Linked DNA regions of Homo sapiens: regions 1, 2, 3, 4, 6 and 7 are each linked to region 5. Evidence: promoter capture Hi-C in 16 types of primary human blood cells and fetal thymus (Javierre and others, 2016). All regions are on one chromosome and are shown on one strand. The core of a region is centred on a gene start or on the middle of the fragment in contact, and the rest is flanking DNA. Distances in the headings are between cores, read along the strand shown. Region 1 overlaps FOXN3 (forkhead box N3). Region 2 overlaps FOXN3 (forkhead box N3). Region 3 overlaps FOXN3 (forkhead box N3). Region 4 has its middle 19 kb from the start of FOXN3-AS2. Region 5 holds the start of FOXN3 (forkhead box N3). Region 6 has its middle 88 kb from the start of FOXN3-AS2. Region 7 overlaps FOXN3 (forkhead box N3).

Region 1 (3,552 bases), core at 776-3,275, 170 kb before region 5:
AACCAAAGTGACACAACGGCATTGCTCTTCGATGGCCTATGGCTCCAAGTGCAACCCAAACGTTTAGACCGATTTTAGATTTCTGTATAGATAGCTCATGCCAAGCTTAAGTTCACACGAATGTTCACAAATATTACTTGGCCTGTAAATTATTCCCAGCAAATTTTCCATTTCAGGCCAACTTCTACTCAGCCACTTCCCTATTAACTATCTACTGCTCTCTGTGCATGCTCATGAGGTGGCCACCGTGAGCTTGTGAAAATTCAACCCAAAGCCACCATGGTGGCTGAATGAGACAGACACACGTGGGTTCTGCATTTTGGGCTCAGCCAGCATCAGTGACCCAGCTTCCTCCTTTCTGGCTGTGTGACATCAGGTGATACACTTACCTTCCAATCTCAGTTTCCTCCTATGTAAAGCGGAGTGCCTCAGGAAAGAACCAGAAAGCCTGCTGGTTCTGTGGAAACAGTAACTGGAGTTGTTCATACCAATGATTCCTTTTCTCCCACTAGGCAACAGACAGTTGATTATAAATAGTTTTTTGGGATTCTCTTCAGAATCCCACGCTCCTGCCCTCAGTGTCAAGGCTCTGGGATACAGCACGTGGAACCCTGGAGAAGCATGAGAAGTTGCCACTGGAGGCTAGATAAGAATCTGGAGTCTCTGTCTCTCTCAAGAAAACAGAAAATGGGGCTCTGTTTGGGGTGTCTATCCCACTCGCAATGGGGGGCCTCTTCCCCTCGGAGCTCTGCCTCTCCCCACCCATGGAGAAAGCCCCTGGCTACCACGTTTTTTCTCCATGCTGCTGCTCCCCCGGACAAGGCGTCAGGACCAGGTAGGTCACATGCTTTCAGTGACTCCATTCACAGAACTTCTGTTGCTCCTGGGAAGTGGGCACTGGAACTGAAAGACAGCCAGGCCACCTGAGCTATTCTCTTCCATGGAGGATATTTGGCTTGAATGCCACAAGGTGACCACTGATCATCCTGCACATGGCATTAGAGAAAACAAAGAGAACACAGAAAGTGACAGAGAGAAGGTACGAGTGGTGCCCGCGTTCCTGGCAGCCTTCCAGGTTCCAGTCTTGATGACCGCCAGCTATTATACATGCTTGGCCTTGGGGTCCTGAGAGACCCACAGTACTTCCTCCAATAGATTCCCTGCCCTCATATATATATATATGCATTTCTTCCTAAACTTGTTGCTTTCTGTTACTTGCAACCAAAAGAAGCCTAAAATATTCTGATTCCTATCTGTATAAATCTCCATCAGTATTTGAGAATGGCCTGAAGGTGGCACTTTCCATTCTGAGACAAAGAATTACTATAAAAATGCTGAATTTGTGGCATTACCTTTATTTTGCCTGATTGCATTACTCAAACAGAAAGAGCTATGAATAATAATAATAATAACGATACCACTAAAGTAAAATATTTGACACTCACAAGATTAAAAGCTGAATACAGTAATCTTCTCATAATCATCACGGGATATGCAGCACTTAATCAACAATTACACTGGGAAAATGCCCGCGACTTAATGCTTAAGTACCGGGAAAAGGCAAAGGAGAAAAGTAGGAAATCAATGCAAGGGGAGCAAGAAGTGTATCCAATCTAAATACTGCATGTATTATGATAACAGAGTTCTACATTTTCCTATCAAGGCTATGCAGAAAAATAATAAAAACAATCCAAGAATACACACCCCAAACCAAAACACTCTCGTGAAAGAGCTATTTTTAAAAATCACTTAGAATATTCATCTGATGGTGACACAGTCCATTAATCGGGGTGCTTATTTTTTCTTAACAGCTTTATTAAGGTGTAATTTACACATTCTTTATGCCCAAGTTTCTTCCCCGAGTCCTGCCCCCTGATGGGAGACGGAAGTGGAATGGCCCATGCAGGAAGCCAGAGCCTGGTGGAATAAGAGGCAGCAGTGTGGCCGACGCAGGGAGGAGAGAAGACAGACCCTCCCTCCCAGGAGGGGGCTCCTATCCCCAAAGGGCCTGCCAAGTGATTGTTAGGAAGTAGGTAGGTATATTCATATCTAGAACATGTAAATTTTTTTAAAAAAAGCAAAGCCTACTTGCCAGATCAAAATATTTCATGACCCAGAGCAAGTAACTCAGCAACCTTGGGAAATAAGCAAGCATTTACAACAGCCCACAATCTCTTTTGGCTGTCAGATCTTTACAACATGAGTTTTATTTTTAATGTTCTTTTTAAAGAGCTAATTCTTCATTCAGGATGCGCCTGCCCGATGCAAGCAGCACAAACACCCGCATTGTATTATAAATAGCCTCTTTTAAGGAGGGCTGGGTGGATAGCAACATTTTTTAACCTAGATACAGTTGTGACAACCCGTGACCTCCACACATCAGCCTTATTGTGTTATTTTATGAAGAATGTATCCTTGATGACTGCAATGATAGCCAATGAGGCCACAGTATGACTTCATGAACACATAATAATGCTGCCCTTTCATTTTCTGAGAGGGTTTATCTTCCTTCTGCTACAGGTAAATACAGTAAATTTGACATCATGGAATACAATTGAAGTAGCAAATGATCAATGTCAACCACAATAACAGTGCTTCAAAAAATTACCTCAACAATCCTATTTTCACCATTTTCCACAACCTATGGAAGTGAGGGAGTGGCATGAATGGGCACCTGGTAACTGAGAGGGAAGAATCTAAACATAGCTGCGTCTGCATCGCGCCCGCCAATGAAACCACATAAGCCCTCCCTCCGGGATGCATCAGTTCACATAAGGGCTCCCCTAAGCTCCAACTCGCAGGAGAATGAAAACAATAGAAAGCTATCTTCAGCCCTGGCTCCACAAGAAAAGCTCATTGCACTGATGCTAAGGTGGCTTTGCAGAGGAAACAGCTACAGACAAACCAACCCCCAAACCCAACTCTTAGTCAACTAGTCAAGATAGGCATTCAATCTTAATACTAGAGATCTGGGAATCCTCTTTACACAGAACTGAGGTGAAATCACCCCTGAGAAAACCAAGCAAAATGAAATCAAGTCCCTGCAAAAGACAAAATATTTCCTTAGACATACATACATGATATTGGTAACGGCCTTCCCTGCCTTTAAATTTGACCTTATAATACAAATGCAACCTCAGGCAAGTTCCCAAAATAATGCAGGAACCTTCAAATATTTCCCCGTCTAAGCCATACCTACAAATGTCATCTATAAGCCCTCCTATTGTATCCTTAGTAAGCAAAGAGACACAGGAATCTGCCTCTGGCCAAATATGCTCAGAGTTCACCTACCAACTGTCATGAAAACCTTGCAAAGTGTGAAGAGTATGAAAAGGCAAAGCTATTAGACTTTTTCTAGGTCTGTTGACTGATTTCCTATAGGTTCTGGGCATATGCTAATATCAAAGCTGAAATACAAAAAGAAATTGGCCCTTCAGGATAAGACCAGTATAAGAATTTCACTTCAAACAAGATGAAAGGAAAACCACTTACCTTGTCTTATAGCTACAAGAATGAAGATTCCCCATACTTAACTTGCTTAAGATTACAGAG
Region 2 (3,676 bases), core at 5-2,504, 190 kb before region 5:
GATCTATGAGGATGGGAGGCCGAGGGTGGAAGGGAAGCTGGCGAGGCTGTGTCGGGTGGTCCTGAAGTCGGCCTCCAGTGGGAAGAGCACTAGTCCCTGGGTGGGCAGGTGCAGACCACGGGCTGTGGTTCCAAGGCCAGACCCCATGGCCTCCTGCCTCCCCTTTCCCACAGCAAAGGTCACCACAAAGGCCAGGGGCAGGTTCTCCTGGGAGATCGCCCAGGGTGCAGGTTGCTGATGGCTTCCTACATTTCGGGTGAGAAGGGGCCTGCTTGTCCACCTTTGTGAGCTTCCTCAGGGCGAAGAAGAATTAGAAATTCCGAGGACTGAACTGCATTCCTGGGCAGCCTCCAGGAGCCTCCAATTGCTCAGACTTTCCTTCTTAAAGTTGCCAGAAGCCCCTGGTAGGTCCCTTTCAGAAAGCATCTGATTTGGAATTTATAGCAATTCTCCCACTGGGCAGTCGAGGGTGAGAGGTGGGCCGGGTGCGGCGCTGGTTGCTGGGGAAGAGACGTTTCCAAAGATCCCTGAGGTGTGGAAGTCAGGGGGAGAGGCGTCCTCATGGGAAGCAGGTCTTTCCATGCTTGGACAATTTGTGTGAGCATCTTTTACCCCCAGGAACATTTAGAATAAAGCAGAGAAATGCTTAAGGAAATCAGGTCTGTAGAATGAATTCCTTAAACAAGACATCAATGCAGATCAACATATCGATGCAGATCAATGTATCAATTGTTCTAACTATTTGAAATACTCACTGTATTTCAAACATAGTATTTCAAATATTTATAACGATTAAGAGAATCTGTCCATTAGAATAACAGACCAGCCTTGAGACTTTAACTTAAAATGTGGCATTAAATAATCAACTTAGATTTTGATTTGAAGTCAAAATCTCAGTAAGGTCATATATACTATACAAGAAAACTTAAAAGACCACAAGGTGTAACATACTTATGAGCTTAATTAGACTTATAAGAATTGCTTAAGTGCTCTAAGAGGCTTGTTTGTTGAGTCAGGCAATTGAGTACTTATAAATTTAATAAGTTCGATTTCCTTTACAAATGCAGCTTAAAATGTTTAAAGGAGTTTAATTAACTAAGTTTGCAAATCAGACCAAACATTAATAAAAGGCCTCCTTAAAAGTGATTATTAAAAACTGATAGGCTTATAAATAAAATGAGATCTGTGAACACCTGTCAAAAGCCTAAGGAGAGGTGAGAATTTAGATTTCATAACTTTCATAAAAATTAATTTCAAAGAGTAAATATCAGAATTACCTTTTCTGCCCCAAATGCTTTGGAACCCTACCTTGCCCATATGATGTGATATGTTTTAGTTTTCCATCTTCAATAACAACTTATTGAGGCACCTACTGTGTGGCAGGTACTATACCAGGCACAACTGGGTATGTTCTAACAATCATCTGGTAGGAGAGATGTAAATATGTGCTACATGAATAACTGCTACATTAGAAAACGGGTGACAATCAACTAAGGAAGACAAAATGCTACAGAAATTCAAAGAACATACATCAATGAAGGCATCATAATAAAATCTTATTTGGAGGCCAAGACAGGAGGATTGCTTGAGGCCAGGAGTTCAAGACTAGCCTGGGTAACATAGCAAGACCCTGTCTCTATAAAAAGAACTTAAGGACGGGTGTGGTGGCTCACGCTTGTAAGCCCAGCACTTTGGGAGGCCGAGGCGGGCGGATCACGAGGTCAGGAGATCGAGACCATCCTGGCCAACGTGGTGAAACCCCATCGCTGCTAAAAATAAAAAAATTAGCTGGGTGTGGTGGTGCGTGCCTATAATCCCAGCTACTAGGGAGGCTGAGACAGAAGAATCCCTTCAACCAGGGAGTCAGAGGTTGCAGTGAGCCGAGATTGTGCCACTGCACTCCAGCCTGGCGACAGAGTGAGACTCCATCTCAAAAAAAAAAAAAAAAAGAACTTAAAAAAGAGCCAGGTGTGGGGATGTGTGCCTATAGTCCCAGCTACCTGGGAGGCTGAGGTAGGAGGATCACTTGGACCCAAGAGTTCGAAGCTGCAGTGAGATGCGATCACGTCACTGCACACCAGCCTGGGTGACAGAGTGAGACTGTCTCTGAAAAATATATAATACAAAAGCCGGGCACAGTGGCTCATGCCTGTAATCCCAGCACTTTGGGAGGCTGAGGCAGGCGGATCACGAGGTCAGGAGATCGAGACCATCCTGGCTGACATGGTGAAACCCCGTCTCTACTAAAAGTACAAAAAATTAGCTGGGCATGGTGGTGGGCGCCTGTAGTCCCAGCTACTTGGGAGGCTGAGGCAGGAGAATGGCGTGAACCCAGGAGACAGAGCTTGCAGTGAGCTGAGATCGTGCCACTACACTCCAGCCTGGGCGACAGAGCAAGACTCCGTCTCAAAAAAAATAAAAATAAAAATAAAAATATGAAATAATATTTGAACTAGATCTAGTCTGCAATTTACTTTTTGAGTTGACCCCCTCCCTCACTGTCCTGAAGCATCATCCGCTGACCTGAGTTTGCCTTACACACAGGTTCACGCTTCTGCTCTTTTACTAACTGGAAACTCAGCTTTCACAACTCTGTTAGGATCGTGTGTAACATAAAGGTTAACAGGATGTGAGTGAAGGCCCATCAGGCTCTCTGAAAGGGTTTATTTCACAAACGTTTTAACATCTTCACTCAGAACTCTTTCCATTTCCTTTGAGACCTTGGTTCTCCATTCTCTACCCATCTTATAGGTGAGGTTGTCAGATAATTGGCCTCTGGACAAGTATTCTTCTATAAGTAGGTTTATCCCTGACCAATTTTAAATGAAGAATAAGAGCAGCTTTATTTCTAAAATTAAGTCCAAAAGGCAAGAATGCCATTCTGATGAGAAATTAGTAAATTCCCAAGTGATGGGGGCGGGGGGAGGGGAGGGGAAGGAAATCTAGTTGTTTTCTGACCATTGATCTACCAAGGAGACATAAAAAAAAAAAAAAGGAGGGACAGGGAGAGGGAAAAGGAGAGGGAGAGGTAGAGAGAGAGAAAGGTAGAGAGAGAGAATCTTACTGTCAACCAGGCTGGGGTGCATTTGGTGTGGTCATAGCTCACAGTAGCCTCACATTCCTAGGCTTAAGTGATCTTCACACCTCACCTTCTCTAGTAGCTGGGACTACAGGCATGTACCACCATGCCCAGACAAGTTTTAAATTTTTTATAGAGATGGGGTCTCACACCACCACGCCCAGGTAAGTTTTAAATTTTTTGTAGAGATGGGGCCTCACTATGTTACCCAGGCTGGTCTCGAACTCCTGGCCTCAAGCGATTATAGGCATGCACCACCATGCCTGGCCAGGGAGACTTTTATTTACTCGCTAGAGTAGTATGACTAGTGGGAAAATTTCAGATTATTCTTCATTAAGTGTTATTGGTTGACCTGTGCCTCCCCCAACCCCAATTCATGTGTTCAGGTCCTAACCAGTACCCCAGAACCTGGTCTTATTTGGAATCAGGTTGTTGCTGACATAAATAGTTAAGATGGTCATACTCAAGTAGGATGGGCCCCTAATCTAATATAAGCAGTATCCTTATGAAAAAGGGAGATTTGGACGCAGACAGAAACACGAGGAAAACACCATCTGAAGACTGGAACTCTGTGGCCACAAGCCAAGGAACTACCAA
Region 3 (3,670 bases), core at 178-2,677, 220 kb before region 5:
ACTCTAAATGAAGAATGTACGGGCTCTGAGGAACAGTATCACAGTGAACCCTGCAAATTCGGAATACATCTGTCCAAGTCAGCTCCCCAACAGGGGGCATCTTTCTAACTCGTGTAAATTGCCCATCTATTACCCCTCATTTCACTTAATCAGGAAGGGGATTCTAGGAAAAGCTACTGGAAGGTAAGTACAGAGCTCAAAGAGCATCCTGGGCTGGGAGCCTGGTGCTGAGGGCTGTCTCAGGCGCCCCAATTCTAAGGTGGTGTTAGGATGGCCGGGCTGGAAGCTCTCCGGGCCTCTCACTTCCTCAGAGTCGATCACTGTCCCTGCTGCTCCTCTGCTGGAGAAATGAAAGGAGTACCTTGATACTCCCCAGGCAGATGCTTTCGTATTTCTGTTTTCTCCGGGCAACAAGAACCGCTTTAACTTTGATGTCTTCTGAGTCCCTTAATTCTAACGTCCTTTTCGCCTCAGCAGCGAGGTCTGCGTCACATTGCCGTCACATTCCCGAATCTGTGATTCCAAAGCAAGTGAACGCATCACCTCCAGCCCTTTGACAAGACACTGCCATCCCAGACACCTCTTTTATCTGGCACTCTAAATTTTCCTACTGATCAACATTGACTTCTTTAATATCTTTGACCAGTTGATCAAAATCTTTCTAGCAGCTGCCTAGGAAAAAACTCAAAGAACCATGTGGACAGAAACTGAGAATACCAAAAAATCTAAACTTCTAGATTTGAAGCCCAGGACAAAGGTGACAAATGACCCAGACCAAGTTATGATCCTGTCCCATGGGTAATAAGACAGAGCCATTATTGAAGAGGCAGGGGGTTTTGATTTGGTTCTGTTTGGCTTGTTAACTGTGCTGGACTTGTCTGAGGTCAGTTTATATATTTTTTAAATTTTTTAAAGCTCCCTATAGATGAATGAGAAACTACACATTCCTCTCAAGTCTCTTCCCCTTTGCATCTCATCCAGTTGTGAATCTCTGCTTACTGCATTCTCTGGTTTCTGTCTCCTGGGTCACCCCTCTCTGGGGATGGCAGTAGCTCATAGCCATGTGCACAGGGGACATTTGGGGTTGCCGTGGAAGAGATTCTGACCCTGCAGGGAGGGAGGAGAGGGCGATTAATGCCGAAGCCCTCTAGAGTCTGGCATTCTTTGCTTTGAAAATGTCCTGCTTGCTCCTGGTTTCTTCATCCAGTGTTACAGCTGAAGCTCACCGCCCAGGAGGGGACTGGAGCCAGCCTCAGGTGCAAGAAGGCTTCCACAGGGCAGGAACAGGAATGGAGACTCCCAAGAGACCCCAGAGCACCTCAGAGCCTGGCCACACTGGTGTCCAAGAGAAAGGATGTGCCACGGCCAGAAGCCAGAGGTGGGACCAGGAAGCCCCTTGAGACCACAGCCAAAGGCCCAGGGAGATGCTCAGAGTATAGGGGCCTGGGCACGGCCAGCCAGGGACCACCAGTGCATCTTTCTTGAGTCTGTTTTTCCCCCTCTCTATGCTATAAGGTCATCTTCCCCAGTGATTGGCTTTCCCCAACCATCACTTCTCTCCACTTATTGGAAGATAGCTCCTGCCCAGTTCCCACGCCAGAAGCCACTTCCTCCTCTAGTAAAAGGGTTCGTGGTTGCTGGTAACCCCTGCACCAACTTTCCCACAGCTGTGGGGGTGCTCATAGTGGCTTGGCCCCAGCAGGCATGGCAGTGCTTGTCAGTGCTGAGAATTGAGTATTTCCACATGCACGGCATCTTCATTAACTCTGTCTTCAACTGGGTCAATGTGCAAATAATCTTTTACAGAAGGAAAGATTCCATCTCAGAGTGACACTGGCAGGTGTGTTAGTGAGAGTAAATACCACGCAGAACCCTGCCATCAGTGCTTCAAGGCACACACTAACTGCGTGCCCACCTCTCCACTGTCTTCCTCCCTAATGCTCGAGCACTGAAGAACTGGAGGGTGACTCTGAACATAGGCTCACTTTGCCTGGGGATGTATGTCTTATACTAACTCAAAATAATTTAAAAAGGAACTATGGAGCCAGTGATGTTCCCACACCTGACACCTGCCTCTCATTATAGAGACACAGGACGTAGTCTGAGAACAAAACCTCACTGTGTTCTTTCTGGGTAGACTTCTACCATATTGAATCACACACCCGGTCCCACTATGCCATAAACCACTGTTCTGCTGAGGCAATCTCTTTGTTACAAAAGGTTTTGCCTTTTGATTTCCTTACTAGAAAGCTGCTTCTCAAACATCTGGAAGGGGATTTGTAATGTGCTACAGTTTAATGTGCTCGACCTCTCTAAAGCACATGCTGAAGTTTGATCCCCAGCATTGGAGGTGGGGCCTCACTGGAAGTGTTTGGTTCACGGGGAGGATCCCTCGTGAATGGCTCAGAGCTGTCCTTGTGGTCATGAGTGAGTTCTTGCTCTATGTGTTCCCGTGAGAGCTGGTTGTTAAAAAGAGCCTGGCACCTCCCTCCCTTCCCCCATCTCTCTCGTGCTTTCCCTCTCACTCTGTGATTCCTCCCCTCCGCATTTCGCATGAGTGGAGTAGTCTCAGATCTCCATCAGAAGCTGGTGCTGGCGCCATGAAGTTGTACAGCCTACAGAACCATGAGCCAGATAAACCTCTTTTCTTTATAAATTACGCAGGCTCAGGTATTCCTTTCTAGTAATACAAAAAAACCCCACAGAACTTTGGAGCCTAAATCTCTAAGATCACGTAAATTCTGCAGCTGTGAGATGCTACAGCTCTGGGGCAATGGTTATCTTCCACAGCCAGGAGTGACCCACCATTTCCCTTTTTTAAACTTTAAGACAGGTCCAGTGGTGCTCTAAGAACCCATCTGCAACCAGGGAATGTGGGGGGGGTGGGGGGAGGGGGAGTGAGGAGAACATATTAAAAATAAAATAATTCAACTATTTACAGCCCATCAAGTAATCAGTTACAGATCCCCAGCAATAGGTACTCCAGGGGGCTGAAACCCGAGAATGCAATAGGTAGAGATGTTGAGGGGAGGGGACTTCAGAGGGATGTGCGGTTTCTCACCTTGACTCTTTATGCCTGCACCACAGGATTTAAGAGCAGTTCAAGCAAACATCGCAGAATTCCCTCCCTTTGCTACAGTGGACTTCCAAATCAAAGTCTAGGGCGTTCTTCAGAGAGAGGCTCTGGATATCCAGCCAAGGCCCAGATCTGTTCTCCCTCCCACATAGACCAGCAAGCCTCATAGTGCCCTGTGTCTGTGGCACCCGAGGGAGGCTGTCTGCCAGGCTAGGTGTGCCTGGAGCATGTCCCTCCTCTGGGAAGGAGGGCATGGAGGGCAGAAGAACCAGTCCTGACCAGGCTGCCCCACTGGAGTCATGCGCTGAGCGGGCAGAGTGTTTAAGGAAGCGGGGGCGTGTGGTATGAATACTCAGATCACAGCATGTGCATGGGGCAGGCAGATATGCTGCTGGGCTGGGGCTGGACAAGGTGGAGGGCAAGGAAGAGTGGGCAAATGTCACACATTTCTTCCGCTCCCAGGGCTCCTTACTTTAAGCTGAGACTATAATCTTCTATGGTTTTCCTCCAGCCAGTCTGACGGTCCTCATCCACCCAGAGCACCCCACAGAAGGGAAGCTGGTAACGAGCCAACAGAGCAGGGACTTCTGCACG
Region 4 (3,831 bases), core at 1,047-3,546, 180 kb after region 5:
AAAAGAAGGGGTAAGGTCTATATTCTCATCACAATAAGTCTATGCATAATTTTAAATTGATTAAAAGTGAAGAAAATGATCTTAGAGGGTTTTTTAAATATAATTTTTTAAATGTTTACACTGTGAAATATCACACAGAGGAGTGCACAAAACCCAGCTCACTACAGGCTCAACCTCAGCCTCTCTAGTAGCTGGGACTACAGGTGCAGGCCACACTCCCAGCTAATTATTTTATTTTTTGTAGAGATGGGGTTTCCATGTTGCCCAGGTTGGTCTCAAACTCCTGGGTTCAAGTGATCTGCCCACCTTGGCCTCCCAAAATGCTGGGATTAAAGGTGTGAGCCACTGCACTGGGCAGCTATAGTTTCATCACGTCTATTTTTTGAGCTTTATATAAACGGAATTCAGATGTGTATGGTGAGGACTTCTTTCACACATTAATGTCAATGAGACTCATCCAGGTTGTGTAGCTATAGTTTGTTTTTATCGGTATGTCACTTTTCACATATACCATAAAGTATTTGTGTGTGTGCACACAAGTATGCACATTATATTATACTCTTGATGGACACTGGGTGGATTCCAGTTTTGAGCTTTTATCAATAATGCTGCTATGAACATTTCTATCCATAATTTTGGGTACATATGTATTCACTTTTCCATTGTGCCTGTACATCAGGATAGAACTACTGACTTACAGAATACGCATATGTTCATCTTTTATTAGGTAATGCTGATTAGTTTTCCAAAGTGGTTGTACCAATTTACACTCTCACCACCAGTGTATGAGAATTCTCATTTCTACAAATCCTCACCAACTCTTGGTACTGTAAGTAATTTTCAACTGTAGGCATTGTGGTGGACATGGAGTCACATTTCACGTGGTTTCTAATTTATATTTCCCTGAAGACTTATGAAGTTGAACAACTTTTCACATGTTTATTCAACATTTGAATATCCTCTTTGGTGAAGTCCCTATTTAAGACTCTTGTCCATTTTTCTACGGGGCTATTTTGTTTTTCTTGAATTGATTTGTAGGAATTCTTTGCATATCCTTCATATAAGCCTTTTGTAAATTATAGACGTTGTAAATATCTCTTAAGTTGCCTTTCATTCTCTATATCTTTTGATGAACAAAAGCTCATTTTAGTATAGTCCAATTTTATCTGCCTTCTCCTTTATAATTGGTTCTTTTGGGTCCTGGCGCACACCTGTAATCCCAGCTACTTGGGAGGCTGGAGCAGGAGAATCACCTGAATCCGGGAGGCAGAGGCTGCAGTGAGTCGAGATCCAGCCTAGGCAACAAAGTGAGACTCTGTGTCAAAAAAAAAAGTACCTTTTCTACTCTTGGCATTTTGTGTTTCCACATAAATTTTAGAATTGGCTTCTCAATTTTCACAAAACCCTCAGGATTCTGATTGGGATTACACTGACTCTATACATCACTTTGAGATGAACTGACATCTTTTAAAAAGTAAGTCTTCCGGCCAGGCGCAGTGGCTCACGCCTGTAATCCCAGCACTTTGGGAGGCCGAGGCGGGAGGATCACAAGGTCAGGAGATCAAGACCATCCTGGCTAACATGGTGAAACCCCGTCTCTACTAAAAATACAAAAAAAAAAAAAAATTAGCCGGGCACGGTGGCAGTCGCCTGTAGTCCCAGCTACTCAGGAGGCTGAGGCAGGAGAATGGTGTGAACCCGGGAGGCGGAGCTTGCAGTGAGCCGAGATCACGCCACTGCACTCCAGCCTGGGCAATTGAGCGAGATTCCATCTCAAAAAAAAAAAAGAAGTAAGTCTTCCATCTCATAAACAACATATATCCCTCCATTTATTTAGGTCTTTAATTTATCTCAATAGTGTTTCATGGTTTTCAATATAGGGGTCTTGTTAGATTTATTCCTAGATAATTTGATTATTTTTATTCTAATGTAAATTCATGTTCTGATTATTAGTGATAAAGAGAAATACAATTTACTTTTTTCATATTTACTTCATATGCAACAAACCTGCTAAATTCATTTTAGTTCCAACAACTTAACCGAAATTTATTTTGAATTTTCTTTATACTCAGTAATTTAGTCTCCCAATAATTAATAGTTTTATTTATTCCTTTCTAATCCTAATACCTTCATTTCTCTTTCATGTCTCATCACACTAGCTAAGATCTGCTGTGCAATAATGAATAGAAGTGGTGATAGATGGCAGATTTGTTTTTCCTACTCTCAAAGGGAAACTTTCAACATTTCACGCATTAAGTATGTTTTTTACTTTTTAATGATGTAGGCTATTTTTTGTATATATGCTTCTTACAGTAAGAAAACTCCCTTTTTATTAGTTTGCAGAAATCTTTTTTAATCGAGAATAAATGTTAATTACATCACATATATTTTCTACATCTATTGAGATGATCATGATTTTTTCCCTTTATGCTGCTAATATACTAAATAACACTTACTGATTTCAAATATATTACACTAACCTTGCATTTCTAGAAGATAACCAACTTGATCATGATGGAGTAATTTATTGCTAGATTCATACTACTAATATTTTGTTTAGAATTTTATTTATTTATTGAGACAGATATTTTATTGATTGATTGATTGAGACAGAGTCTCACTCTGTCACCCAGGCTGGAGTGCAGTGGCACAATCTCGGCTCACTGCAACCTCCGCCTCCCCGGTTCAAGCCATTCTCCTGCCTCAGCCTCCCAAGTAGCTAGGATTATAGGCACGTGCCACCAAGCCTAGCTCATTTTTGTAGTTTTAGTTGACGGGCATTTCACCATATTGGCCAGGCTGGTCTCGAACTCCTGACCTCAAGTGATCCTCCCACCTCAGCCTCCCAAAGTGCTGGGATTACAGGCGTGAGACACTGTGCCCGGCCTTGTTTAGGATTTTAAAATTTATATTCATGAGTGAAACTGGCCTGGAATGTTCCTTTCTTATAACATTTCAGTCAGGTTTTAGTATCAAAATTCTCCTGGCCTCTTGAAACCAGCTGGGAGTATTCCTTCTTTTTCAATTCTCTAGTGGAGAGTTTGTGGAAAATATGTGTTATTTCTTCCTTAAATATTTGGTGACCTCAACAGTAAAACTATCTGGATCTGAAGTTTTCCTTATGGGAAACTTTGTAATTACATATTCATGAGGAGACATAGAGCAACTCAGCCTGTTATTTTTCTTACAGCAGTTTCAGTAAGTGGCATTTTAAAATTTTTGTCCATTTCCTCTAAAATGTCAAATATATTGCCATAAAGTTTTTCATAATATTCTCTTACTATCTTTTAAAGATAGTTATACCCTTTTTTCATTCCTCATAGTTGTTGTTGGTGCTATTTTTTCTTGATTAGTCTCACCAGGATTCATTGATTTTATTAGTCCTTTGGCTCTGTTGATTCTCCCCCCATTTCATTACCTTTTATCTTGTCTTTATTATCTCCTTTCTTCAACACTGTAAAAAAAATTTAGTTGTTCTTTTCTAACTTCTGGAAATTAATGCTTAGGTTATTTTTAAACCTCTCTTCTTTTCTAATATATGCAAATATAAATAGGCTTTAAATATCCCTCTAAGCATTGCTTTACATGCATTCCACAATTTTTGCTGTCATATTTTCATTGTCATTAATTTCCAAATATTTTCTACTTTCCATTGCCATTTATTCTTTGACTTGTGATTGCTTAACTTCTAAACATATGGGGATTTTTCATTTATATTTTTTGTAATTGATTTCTAGCTTAATGTCACTGTAGTTGGAAAATATACTCTATGATTTCCATCCTATACTCTATGATTTCCATCAATATGTTAAGAGTTGCTTTATGACTCAC
Region 5 (3,849 bases), core at 1,221-3,720:
GGATGGTCTCAATCTCTTGATCTCGTGATCCACCCGCCTCGGCCTCCCAAAGTGCTGGGATTACAGGCGTGAGCCACCGCGCCTGGCCAAGATGCCCAACTCTTAAGGAGAGAAAACTTCATGAGGCATTGCAGTACAGACCAGGCAGGATGCTCCAGACGTCTTGGGTTCACTCACAGGGAATATTTCTTTCTGTCAAATAAGGAGGTTACCCTGACACATTTCAGACAAAAAACAAGCTAGCATCTTTTGGCTTGGGGATACAACAGAGTCTGGTCTGATCCTGCTTTTAACTTCTTTATGAACGAATTATAGCACCACTTGTCTTTCTTAAAGTTTCCTCAGATCCCATCAGAAAATTTTCTGATGACCAGCATATGCCCACAGTAGAGTATAAAACAGAACTACCCAGCCACTGAAGTCAACTTTAGCTCTAAATGAAAGTTTTATGTCTCCTGAGCTTCCAAACAGGAAAATTATATCATGGCTGACAGTAAAGTAATTTAATTGCACTGTTGCTATGACAACATGCTGCTCTCTTTCTTTTTAATTTGCTTATTTGTCAGTAGCTTCCCAGAGGAACTAACACGCTATTCTCCATGTTTCCTTTTGTTTTAAACAAACACTGCCAGCAATATGGTTTTAGGAGAAAAAGTGGCATTGTCACGAAGAGAGGGTTATGGGAGTTCAGTACCCTTGGATCATGTGTGCGTTTTGTGCTGGGACCCCGTACTCTCCAACCACTCACTGCATCCCTATAAATCCCGCATTTTATACCAACAGGGTGAAGAGCTGCTGATCACTACAGTTCCATGTAAAAACAAAACAAAACAACAATAACCAAAAAAAAAAAAAAAAAAAAAAAAAAACAGTTCCCAGAAACCACAGCTGAGGAGTTTTCCATTATTATACTCTAACTACAGATTTCGCCAAATCTTTTTTTCCTCCTGTTTCAGAGGGAAAAAAAAAGAATCTGGATCATGTGAGTTGCAGTTAAGCAAACATTTTTAATCTGCTGCCAACAAGGCTGCTCCACCAGATACGCAAATAGTTATTCACTGGTGACCTCCTTACAACTTTTCTCTACACACACACACACACACACACACACACACACACACCCTCTTTTGTTTTTTTTATGACTTGCTGTGTTTTGTTACCCTCTTTATTTTTTAACGGAGAAAATGCGGCAAGAAAGCTTAGTTTCTCGCCTAGTAAACAGAAGGTCTCCAAATAACTGACAAAGACATTACTGGCCCAGCTCTGAACAGATGTTCGATGCGAACTTTAAAAAGTTAAGAAATCTTCCCAGAGCCGAGCAGTAGCGAGTTTGGGGGGCCGGGTCACCCCCGCCCACCCAGCACGCGCGCGCGCGCACGCACGCGCTTCACTCTCGTCTACTGTACTTGTCAAAAACATTTCAAGGGGACCTGCGGGAGTGGCGATTGGCTGCACCCCGCGTCAATCAGCGGCGTTGCCGGGCAACGGGGGAAACTGCTCTTATCCCCATATACAGGGCAATTGGGAGCTCGCATACCTTCACTGCCGGTCAGATGTCATAAACCTTTTATTGGCCGCACCGCGGCGAGCCTCGAAAACAAATCAATAAAAGCCCGCCGTCCCCCAACTTATCCAGGGCCCAAGGAGGGTTTCAAACAGGGCCGGGATGAGGGGGGTCGGGCCTCGGGGGTCTCCGGAGACGTTCGTTGCCTGTGCCAAGTCTGCACAGTTTGGCCGGGGGGTGATCTTTGTTAGGAGCCTGTTTCTCATCTTGGGGTCTCCACTTGATCGGAACCCCCTCCCCGGCCCGGAACGGCGGGGACCCCGTCCTCCGCAGACAATACCAACTCTGTTCCTTGCGGGCGTCTTTTCGGAAACCGAGGCACCGGGAAGCAGCACGCACGTCGGGGCAGGAAACTCTTCGGACCCGGCAACTTCCCGGCTCGGGGGCTCCCGGGGTCCACACCCGACCCTCCCCCCAGGACCTGCGGGGTCCCTCGTCTTCCCAGAGCGGCGAGGTAGTCTCCAGGACCGTCTCGGACGCGCCTCCCGCCCCGGGTGCCCCCCGAGCCCACGCGGGAGCCGGCAGGAGCGGGGTGCAAACTCACCTGGCCGGAGCGGGGCACGGGGGTGCGGGGGCGCCGCTGCCCTTCAGCAGGAGCCGACAAACTTTCGCGGGCGCCCGGCGGGCATCGCTCGGTGGCCCCGCTAAGGACGCGCGGGCGCGGCGCGGCGAGCCCGGGGCGGCGGGCGGCGGGGGGCGGCCGCGGGCGCGGGCGGCAGGGGCGCGGGGGTCGCGGCGCGGCATGGGACCTGCGGCGTCCGCCGGGCGCGCCGCGCGTCCTCCCGCCGGCCCCGCCGCTCTCCCCGCCCCGTCCCGCCTCCCGCTCGCCTCCGCCGCGGCGCGTCGGGCCGGGGCGCGCCGAGCGGCGAGAAATTGTTTCCACTGCAAACAAAAAAAGGCGACACATGACCAGGCAGGAGGAGGGGAAGCGCGGGGAGGGAGGAGGGCGGAGGGAGGGACAGAGCGGAGGGCGGAGGGAGCCGGAGAAAGGGAAAACGTGGGCCTGGCCGCCAGCGGCCTGGGGCGCGGGGCACTGACCCGCCGGGGCGGACCCTGCCCGCGCCCCTCGCGCGCCCCAGCACTCAGCCAGGGCGGAGGCCGGGGCTGGGCCGCGCGGCCTCGCCTCTTGGGCCCCGCGGGGCGGGGGTGACCGGCGCGGGTCCCGCGACCCAGGGCGGCCGCGACCGTGGGCGGTGGGGCAGGTGGGTCAGGCGGCGCGTGCCCTGTCCCCTCCCCGGGCTCCGGCCACACGAGCGGGCCGGCGCTGCGCTGCTGGCAACGTGTCGCGGGAACGCTCCTACCCCATCTGCATGCCTTACATGGCTCGAAAGTAAAAATAAAAAGAATTACGATGCGGGCGAGGCTTGTGGGGGTGAGAAGAGGAGATTCCACGTCTCCCCAGTGCTGCGTCCTGATAGGACCCCCAGGGCCTTCCGAGCCCTCTCCCAGCGACCACCTCGTGTCCCGGAGGTAAGCACCGCAGCGTCCCACCCAGGTGGCCGCGTGTCTCCCGAGGGAGGGCCGGTGGCCATTACAAGACAAGAGGCACCGTCCTAAAGGCCACGCCGGTGGGGCCTCTCAAGTGGGTTGTGCGGAACGCCCCGGCCGGCCTAGAGAGAAAACAGGTCTCATTTCCATCTCAGTTTGAGCTCTCAGGAACCAGACTGACAATTCGCAAGCCACCCAGCGAAATGGTGCAGCCACCACTCTAAGTCTCTAGGCACCTCCAAATAATAGCACCCACTGCTAAAGCCACACCAACCAGCCGCCTTGGGAGAGGATGAGAGGAGAGAGTCCAACAGGACACCCTGGTGGTGACAAAAATAAAAATGTGATTGCACATTACTCCCAGGTAGCCAAATTGGTTGGTTCCTCTACAGAGGAGAAGCCCAGGGCACCCTTCCTGCCACCCCCTCCTGAGCCAGTGGACAGGACATCGTGAGCGGTCTGAAAACTACAGAAAAAAACAGCGAGTAGACCTGGAGAAAGCTTTCTAGCATGCAGTACTTTTAAACCTAGCCAAAAGGAGGGACTAAGGGAAACACCAGTTAGGCTTCTGAAAATTTTTTCTGTCTCAAAAAATAGACCCCCCCCCCCCAATCTGAGAGTCATTCCCCCTAACAAAGGTTCAAGAGGGCAGGTGACAAGTCTTCAGCAAAGATGTGCCTTTCAGACTCACCGGAGACCTTACTACTTCCAAGTTGTGTGGCATCTCCCCATCTGGAGACAATTAGGAGGTGGAAGCCCAGGGGTAGCCTGAGGTCATCCAGCCCCACCCCTTTGAT
Region 6 (3,727 bases), core at 840-3,339, 250 kb after region 5:
GAATCACAAAACAGTCCTGGGCTCCAGAGGACCTAAATGTTTCATTGAAGTCATTACGAGCATTGCATACTAGGAGGGAAAGAGATTTTATTATTTAAAGATAACTTGCACAGAGAAAAAAAAAATTCTAGGAAGAAAATTTGAAGCATAGCCTGAAAAATAAAAAAAAATTTAAAAATCAAAGAACATGCTGGTTCTAAAATGCGACTGAGACAGCCTTTCTCTGGCCACTCCATGCCCACTCTCAACCACGAATTTATTACCATGAAAAGTACCAATCTGATGGTGTACAAAGGTAGGGGGGAAAATGTAAGAACAATGCCTTACATTTTCTACATTTTTTGCGTTCATGTATCACACTTGATACATTTTTCTTTGAGATGCCATTTTAACCCCTGGCATCTCAAAGGCAAAGTGATGGTCTCACACCCGGGAATGCTTGCTTAGGTAGGATCCCACCAACTGGCAACTTCCTAAAAGGTGATCACTTTTTCCAAACATGCCTCTTGCTCTATGCTACATTCTCTTTTAACGGTCTTTTTTTTTTTTTAATTTTTTGTTTGTTTTACAACAATTATTTTTTTGACGTTTTTCCTTCTCTTAATGTTACCGTTGGGGCTCAGAAACCCAATACCCTAAAATATGGTGGTCTGACATACTGAACTGAAGAAGCTTCAAGGTCTCTCTGACCTTCTCCACCCCATTGTCTCTCTCAAAAGCTTTATCTGCCTAAGATCCAGACCCACCAGAAGGAACCATTGTTCCTTCTTCTCCTCCCTCTAAGACCAAGAAGGTAACCATACTGGAACAGACCCTTTCACAAGAAAATGAACAAATTAATCTCTGTTCCCTGATCCGTTCATTCTTCCTAGTAATCCCGTCAACAGAGTTCCTCTTCGCTCCCTTCCCATAATGTCCAGCCAGGATGGCATATAAGCTTCCAAACCCCATTGGATGGTCACTGCGTGGCTCTGTGTGTGTGTGTGTGTGTTAAATAAATTGTCTGCCTTTTGTCCCATTAAACTGCCTTTTGTGAGTTGATTTTTCAAGCAAACCTTCAGAGGGCGAAGAGGAAGCTCTCCTTTGACCCTACATTGCTGTAATCTCTTGATTGTCTTGTCTGTCCTTGTTTCTCCTATTTGTTACTTTCTGGAGATGGAAAAGTCAGCCATTTGTCTAATGGAGTTCAGAATGATTTTCATACCACAGCCTCTCTTTTTAGATTGGTCTGTTACTGCCTTCAGTAACTACACCACATAACACCATAGTGTTGCATCATGCTAAATGTTATAATGCCATCTTTTTCTTTAAGGGGTTATTCTCATAGCAATTTAAGTTGAATAAGTAAATCATTGTACTCTTAAGTTATTCCTATCGGTGTGCATAATTTATAAAAACTAGGCCTGCTATTGTGTTATTCATTTTCCTAATTGGGTTAGGTCCATCTTTGGCTCTCAGTTATCTGGTTTACCCTCACACCATCATGAATAAACATCACTGGTCTCAATATTGATTGCTAGAATATCTCAGCCCTAACTTCATCATCACACTCTTTAAATGGCATGGAAGTGTTTTTACGGGCACTCTTTTCTCTCCCAAACCCCCCATTTCATCCTCTGGAATCCCTATAAAATGCTAAGTAAATTTCCTAACATATTCCAGCCTTTACCAAATGTTTCCCCTGCTTCCTGATTATAACCGAAGCCTGCTCTCCCTTGAGGACGTGCAGGGAGCTGGAGCTGGGATGAGGGCAAGATGAGCTCCATATTCTCTTATCTTCTCATTGCGCGGCTGCCAAACCATCTTTTTATTTATTTATTTATTTATTTTTCTGATATGGAGTCTTGCTCTGTCACCCAGGCTGGAGTGCAGTGGCATGATCTCGGCTCACTGCCACCTCTGCCTCCTGGGTTCAAGTGATTCTTCTGCCTCAGCCTCCCAAGGAGCTGGGATTACAGTTGCCTGCCACGGTGCCCAGCTAATTTTTTTGTATTTTTAGAGGAGACAGAGTTTCACTATGTTGGTCAGGATGGTCTTGAACTCCTGACCTCATGATCCACCCGCCTCGGCCTCCCAAAGTGCTGGGATTACAGGTGTGAGCCACCACACCCGGCCAAACCATCATTTTTTACCTTCACGTGAACGTCTCTTTCTCTTCAGCCTCACATCATCCAACTACGCAGCATCTTACAGGTCCTCATGGTGTCATCTGCTGGGACAGAGGCTAACATGGTAGAAGGACTTCATAAATAGCCAAGGAATCATGCCTGTAATCCCAGCACTTTGGGAGGCCAAGGCAGGCAGATCATGAGGTCAGGAGTTCGAGACCAGCCTGGCCAACATGGTGAAACTCTGTCTCTACTAAAAATACAAAAATTAGCCAGGCGTGGTAGCACACGCCTGTAATCCCAACTACTCTGGAGGCTGAGGCAGGAGAATTGCTTGAACCCAGGAGGCAGAGGTTGCAGTGAGCCGGGATCGTGCCACTGCACTCCAGCCTGGGTAACAAGAGTGAAACTCCATCTCAAAAATAAATCAATAAAATAAAATAAAATAGTCAAGGAATTAATGAAATAATGCATATAATTACTGCTCATTTTCTGTATTTATCAAAAATGGCTGAGCCTTCCCCTCTCTGACAGGTCCCTGAGTCATTTCCAGGGTCTTTGAACTTGTTTAAATCCTTGCCTCACTCTTTTTTTCACACCTATATTCCAGTGGCTGTTGCCTCCTCAATTCATGAGTGTACCAAGTTCCACGTCATCTATAGCACTATACTCACTCAAAAATCTTAAAATTCTTGAAGTTCATTCCCAATCAGTCTCTGACTGTCTTTACTGTTCTGCCTATTAAACTATCTATTTCAGTGTTTCTCTGAATTTTGATATCCACAAACAACTTTATGGCTATTTAGAACATGTGGATTTTCCATTGTAGATAAATTGGCTTTTAAAAGATTATTGAAACCGCATGAGTTCCTTTGTTCTGTTGAGGCAGAAATTGGCAGGCAGGGGATTTATTTGGGGAGTGCATTTGAGATTAACATCTGTAGGAGGAAGGGAAAGAAGGAAGGTTGGGAAGAGGGAGAATTAAGCTGCAGTGTAGTCACTGCAAGGCCTCAGTCCCACAGGCAGCTCCTTCAGTATTGGTCTGAACTGGGGCACTGGGATTGAGCCTCCATACAATGGCAACTGGTCATTGGTTGCAGGCTATCCTGGAAAGGGGGTATGTCCTTGGACAAGAAAGCTTTCTTCAGCCTAGGCTATTCCCAAAGAGGATTGACAGCTGAGAGCTGTCAGCCTACAACCTTCCCAGCACATGGGGCAAAGATCTCTTAAAGCCGGGGATCTGGGCAATGTAGTCCAACATCGACAACGGACACTCACTCAGGCTCAGGAGGCACATTGTTCATCATCTGATGTGCTCTGTGGATACAGCAGGGCTGGGTCAGCCTTTAGACTTTCATCTGACTAGCCCAGCCTTTTCCTTGTTATGATTATAGGTAGTGATCCATTAATACTGAGTGCAAATATTTGCCAGTCTACATCAGGGCTCATGGAGTGCCTTATCTGCCCAAATATAAGACAATTATGTACATAAGACAGTAGCTCCATGAAAAAATACAAAACAAAAGCCTTTTGGACAATTTGAATATATATGCATATGATATGGTTTGGCTCTGTGTCCCCGCCCAAATCTCATCTTGTAAGTCCCATAATTCCCACGT
Region 7 (3,732 bases), core at 876-3,375, 250 kb before region 5:
TTTTCTATATTTATATGAAAATAATTCATGCTTCATGCTAAATACATTATTTACCTTACAAGAACTTTGTTACTTTTGAATAAAAAAAGTTTGTTTTTGTGATTTTTTTCTCTTTTTCTTTTTTTTCTTCAAAGGAATCCATGCATTGTGGATCAGAAATTTCTGCTGGCTATACTGGCTGAATGTGGAAATCACTGATTTTTGCAAAGATAAATCCTGATATTAATTGCAAACTCCATTTTGAGGGCAGTATAGGAGTTATTTTATTTTTTGCCATGTTTTACTTTTTTTTTTTGTCCATCAGTGTACCTTTAATCTTAAAAATACACCACAATACTAATGGCAGGTTCCGTAGCTTTCTAGTTTTTTTTTTTTTTTCACTTGGATCAAATAGTTTTGATAGACAGAAAAAGATCTGTACCATTATTTCCTTTCCTTAACAGCTATTGTAATTTCCTGGACTTGGTTGCTTTTCACTTGGGCAGTTAAGAAGACACAGCTTGTTTTCCCCATCAGTTTTCTCTCTCTCTCCTTCGTGTGTGTGTGTGTGTGTGTGTGTGTGTGTGTGTGTGTGTGCGTGCGTGCACAGGGCCAATCTTCAGGCTTATGGCTTTTGGAACATTTTCTTAATTTAATAGAGAACAGAATTCAATGATTAGCAACATCACTAAAAATTTACCCCATTTCTTCTCCATGAGTCACTGACACCCGATGCGCATGAACAGTCCAACGTCCACCTCGTAAGATGTCATCGGGCTTCAGGGTTCAGAAGCATCGAGGACTGGTGGCCGGCCCTCTGTGCTCGCCGTGTGACAATTCCAGTGGCTTTCCTGGCACCATCAGATGCCTGGTGCCACAAGCTTGGGTCTGCTCCTAGGGGGACGAGGGGTTCCTCCTCCTCCTCAATTGCTTTATGTGCCTTCACTCAGTGAACCCAATGGGATGGACAACCTGACTTTTTAAACCTAAGGGTTGGGCCTGAACGATGATTACTTTGCCCACGTGCCTTCTAGGTGCCGAATGTGTGTTCCTGTGATATTGACGTTGACATCCCTGCGGATTCAGCCACAGGTTTCTGACAAGCTGGAGGAAGCAATGGTAATTTTGGCTTTTTCGGTTTTGTCTTCAGATAATGAAAAGCTTTTGTAAAACAGCTGAGTGTCAATATGAGTTCTATGGCTTCAATCTCCTTTAAAAATAAAATTCTTAAGGGTCCAAAACAAAGAAGAGGGGGCAAATTAAAACAAAATAAAAGGAAAAGAAAAGAAAGAAAACCAAACCAAAAACAAGAAAAAAGAAAAAAAATTGCTGATATTGCCACAAATCATTAGAAATCTCCTGACATGCTGAAACCAAATGGTCGTAAGTTCAAAACAAATCAGTGACTTGTTTTTAATTTTTTGTGGTTTCCTTTTGCTCTTTCTGCCCCTTTGCCGTCCGATTGGTGATGTTATTCAAACAGGACCGGATCCCTGCTAAGTGCAGGAGGGACCCTGCCGCTTCTTTCATCTCCTCATCATCGCTCTCGGGGGGCTTTTCGGTGCGTCTCTTTTTGAGGGGCAGTGTGTCGCTGGGGACCTTCCTGGCCTTGGCGAAGTGCTGGCGCTTCTTGTGCTGGGATGCGTACCCGCTGTCCCCCAGAGAATCCTTGGGCTCCTTCTGGCTGTGCTTCCTGTCGTCCTCTTCCGTGTCGCTGGGGCTCTCGTGGCTCCGGAAGCTCCCCTCGCTGCCCTCGCTGCCCTCCTGGCTCCCCTTGGTGGCAAACTCATAGTGGTCGTCGGCTGAGGAGGAGGAGGAGGAGATGGAGTCGCTGGTGGGCGAGGTGCTCCGGGCGTTGGAGGACTTGGCACTGCTGTAGTTGTGATCCTCCTTGGGGTCTCCGCTGACCACTGGGGAGCCACAAGATGGCTCACTCTCAGTCCGCATCCGGCAGCTGGTGATGCCATTCCTGCAGAGCGAGGACAGTGGGGAGGGACGGGAGACAAAGAAGGGACACAGTTAGACGTCCTCAGATGGGGGCACCCGGCAGCCCGCCTGCATTCAACCATCAGTCCCTTTGTGTTCAATGGAGCCACTCGCAAACTGTGGGGGCAACAGGTGGATCTGCTTTGAAGGCAGGGTCCTAAATCCTGACACCTCAGTCTCCCCTGCTTATCTCCTATAATGGCAGTTTCACTCCATTTGTGTGGCTGAGACGTCAAAACAACAATCTTCTGAAGCGACAGTGGTGGAGGCTCCATCTCTTACATTAAACCATAAAAATCAAGCTGTGCTTGGTTCGTGTCCCCGCCAACACCACAGAGTCAGACACCGCCAGACGATGTTGGCTGGGTACTTCAGAGAAAAAAGCCTGCTCTCGTCTGAAGCGGCTACATTAGGAGGCTTTTGTCAGAAGACTAAACCAGTGTTCAGCAAAGATACCTGCCATGTGGTGACAGCTACTCACTCATGCATTCCCTCCCTCGTTCATGCAATCTACAAATACTCACTGAGCGCCTAACAGAAATGCATGACCTTAGGGAGGGTTCTGGGGGAGGGACACGGGGTTGGATCGGATATAGACACTGCCACAGCGATGTTGCAGCCTAACAGAGAGGCAAGCCAGGGTCGCATCACAGACCAGAGGGCAATAAACTACGACTTCCCGAACTCAACACCTGCCAGGCGCTCTGCTAAGTCTGTGCAGAGGACCATGTTTAACTCCGTAAGGTGGATATTAGCATCCTTATTTTACAGTGGCTCGAAGTGAAGCCTGGAGAAGTTCAGTGATGTACTTAAAGTCACACAACTGATCACTTGCGGAGCAGGGACTGGAATCAAAGTCTGACTCTCAGACTTGAGGTCTTAGCTACATCACCAGACCGACCCTCCTTTGTGATTTCCCTATAACAAGGTCCCTGCTACCCATGCCTATAAGGCGTCTGTAGCACTCATCACACCTCTGATTATTTCTTTGTGTCTTTACATCTGAGCGATGTACTTTCCTTGTGCTTCCTTATCGCGAAAGTGGGAATAGTAACTACACCTGCTCCCCGTGGGTGTGGGGCTGAGGACACGAATTAATGCCTGCAGGTGCCTGGACCACGGCTTGGCCTGACAGCAATGGCTGTGAAGCTTATTCCTGGTTAGGACCCATGCTCCTTATGTCTGGGAGGCAGCTGCCTGTCTGTTAGTGCCTGGCGCCCAGCCTTCAGAAGGATGAATACTTGCAGGAGAGGAGGGTCACTTGTAGCTGAAGGGGACGAAGGGTGGACGCCAGGGAATGTTTTGTGGAAGACAAGGCATCTGACCTTGGACACAAGGGCTGAAGAATTTGGCAGGGATGGGAACTGTTCTATGGCACCATGCTGGCCCGGTTTCCTGTAAGCTCATCTACCTCGTGATCCATTTCTAAGAGTTCTGGGGAACATGACCATACTTTTCCTGCCTAGATGACCCCAACTGTAAGTACTCTTACATCCCCTCCATAGAGGGCACTCCCCACCATCATTATGAACTGTGTGGTCATGTGTCCCATTAGAGAGCTAGCTCCATGAGACAGGGTGTGGTTACTGCTAGGCCCCCAGTGGCTATCGCCGTGTCAGCACGGTGGACACAGCAGATAAACTGAGGAAGTGCGGCACAGGTGGAATCACGTGGCTGAGAGCATGAAGCTTGGGAAATGACTGTGGGTCTCCACCACCATGACTCACCGGGCACACGCTGAGGATACGGCACTGGTAGAAGGGCTGT

What was found. Contacts are between HindIII fragments. The CHiCAGO score rates a contact against its expected background, and 5 or more counts as called.
Region 1: a contact is called between a fragment that was not itself captured here and the fragment with the promoter of FOXN3 in region 5, in 4 of 17 cell types (total B cells, megakaryocytes, M2 macrophages and 1 more). The highest score is 7.6, in total B cells.
Region 2: a contact is called between a fragment that was not itself captured here and the fragment with the promoter of FOXN3 in region 5, in 1 of 17 cell types (total B cells). The highest score is 6.1, in total B cells.
Region 3: a fragment that was not itself captured here is called in contact with the fragment with the promoter of FOXN3 in region 5 in 4 of 17 cell types (M0 macrophages, total B cells, activated CD4 T cells and 1 more); the score reaches 6.3 in M0 macrophages.
Region 4: a fragment that was not itself captured here is called in contact with the fragment with the promoter of FOXN3 in region 5 in 1 of 17 cell types (activated CD4 T cells); the score reaches 5.6 in activated CD4 T cells.
Region 6: a contact is called between a fragment that was not itself captured here and the fragment with the promoter of FOXN3 in region 5, in 1 of 17 cell types (activated CD4 T cells). The highest score is 6.6, in activated CD4 T cells.
Region 7: a fragment that was not itself captured here is called in contact with the fragment with the promoter of FOXN3 in region 5 in 2 of 17 cell types (megakaryocytes and total B cells); the score reaches 7.3 in megakaryocytes.

Annotation. Positions count from the first base shown.
Region 1 is chr14:89,241,146-89,244,697 of GRCh38, forward strand. All of the region lies in intron 4 of FOXN3 (forkhead box N3), which reads right to left. Among named protein-coding and RNA genes, the nearest start is that of FOXN3-AS3, 110 kb to the right of the region's middle. The HindIII fragment of the contact is 3,844 bases long and covers 104-3,552 here.
Region 2 is chr14:89,223,196-89,226,871 of GRCh38, forward strand. The region is part of intron 4 of FOXN3 (forkhead box N3); the gene reads right to left. Among named protein-coding and RNA genes, the nearest start is that of FOXN3-AS3, 130 kb to the right of the region's middle. The HindIII fragment of the contact is 6,945 bases long and covers 1-3,676 here.
Region 3 is chr14:89,200,211-89,203,880 of GRCh38, forward strand. The region is part of intron 4 of FOXN3 (forkhead box N3); the gene reads right to left. Among named protein-coding and RNA genes, the nearest start is that of FOXN3-AS3, 150 kb to the right of the region's middle. RefSeq lists an enhancer at 1,522-1,581. The HindIII fragment of the contact is 4,666 bases long and covers 1-3,670 here.
Region 4 is chr14:89,593,550-89,597,380 of GRCh38, forward strand. It overlaps a transcript of FOXN3 not described here. Among named protein-coding and RNA genes, the nearest start is that of FOXN3-AS2, 19 kb to the left of the region's middle. The HindIII fragment of the contact is 6,730 bases long and covers 1-3,831 here.
Region 5 is chr14:89,414,763-89,418,611 of GRCh38, forward strand. FOXN3 (forkhead box N3) reads right to left here and starts at 2,471. Exons shown (of 6, transcript NM_005197.4): 1 at 2,109-2,471. FOXN3-AS1 (FOXN3 antisense RNA 1) reads left to right here and starts at 2,592. Exons shown (of 2, transcript NR_036500.1): 1 at 2,592-3,034. RefSeq lists enhancers at 1,323-1,617, 1,632-2,165, 2,166-2,698, 2,323-2,617 and silencers at 2,313-2,522, 2,563-2,852. The HindIII fragment of the contact is 2,355 bases long and covers 1,197-3,551 here.
Region 6 is chr14:89,662,007-89,665,733 of GRCh38, forward strand. No RefSeq gene overlaps it. Among named protein-coding and RNA genes, the nearest start is that of FOXN3-AS2, 88 kb to the left of the region's middle. The HindIII fragment of the contact is 2,309 bases long and covers 936-3,244 here.
Region 7 is chr14:89,161,022-89,164,753 of GRCh38, forward strand. FOXN3 (forkhead box N3) reads right to left here. Exons shown (of 6, transcript NM_005197.4): 6 at 1-1,948. The coding sequence ends at 1,393. Among named protein-coding and RNA genes, the nearest start is that of TRA-AGC15-1, 180 kb to the left of the region's middle. The HindIII fragment of the contact is 1,974 bases long and covers 1,139-3,112 here.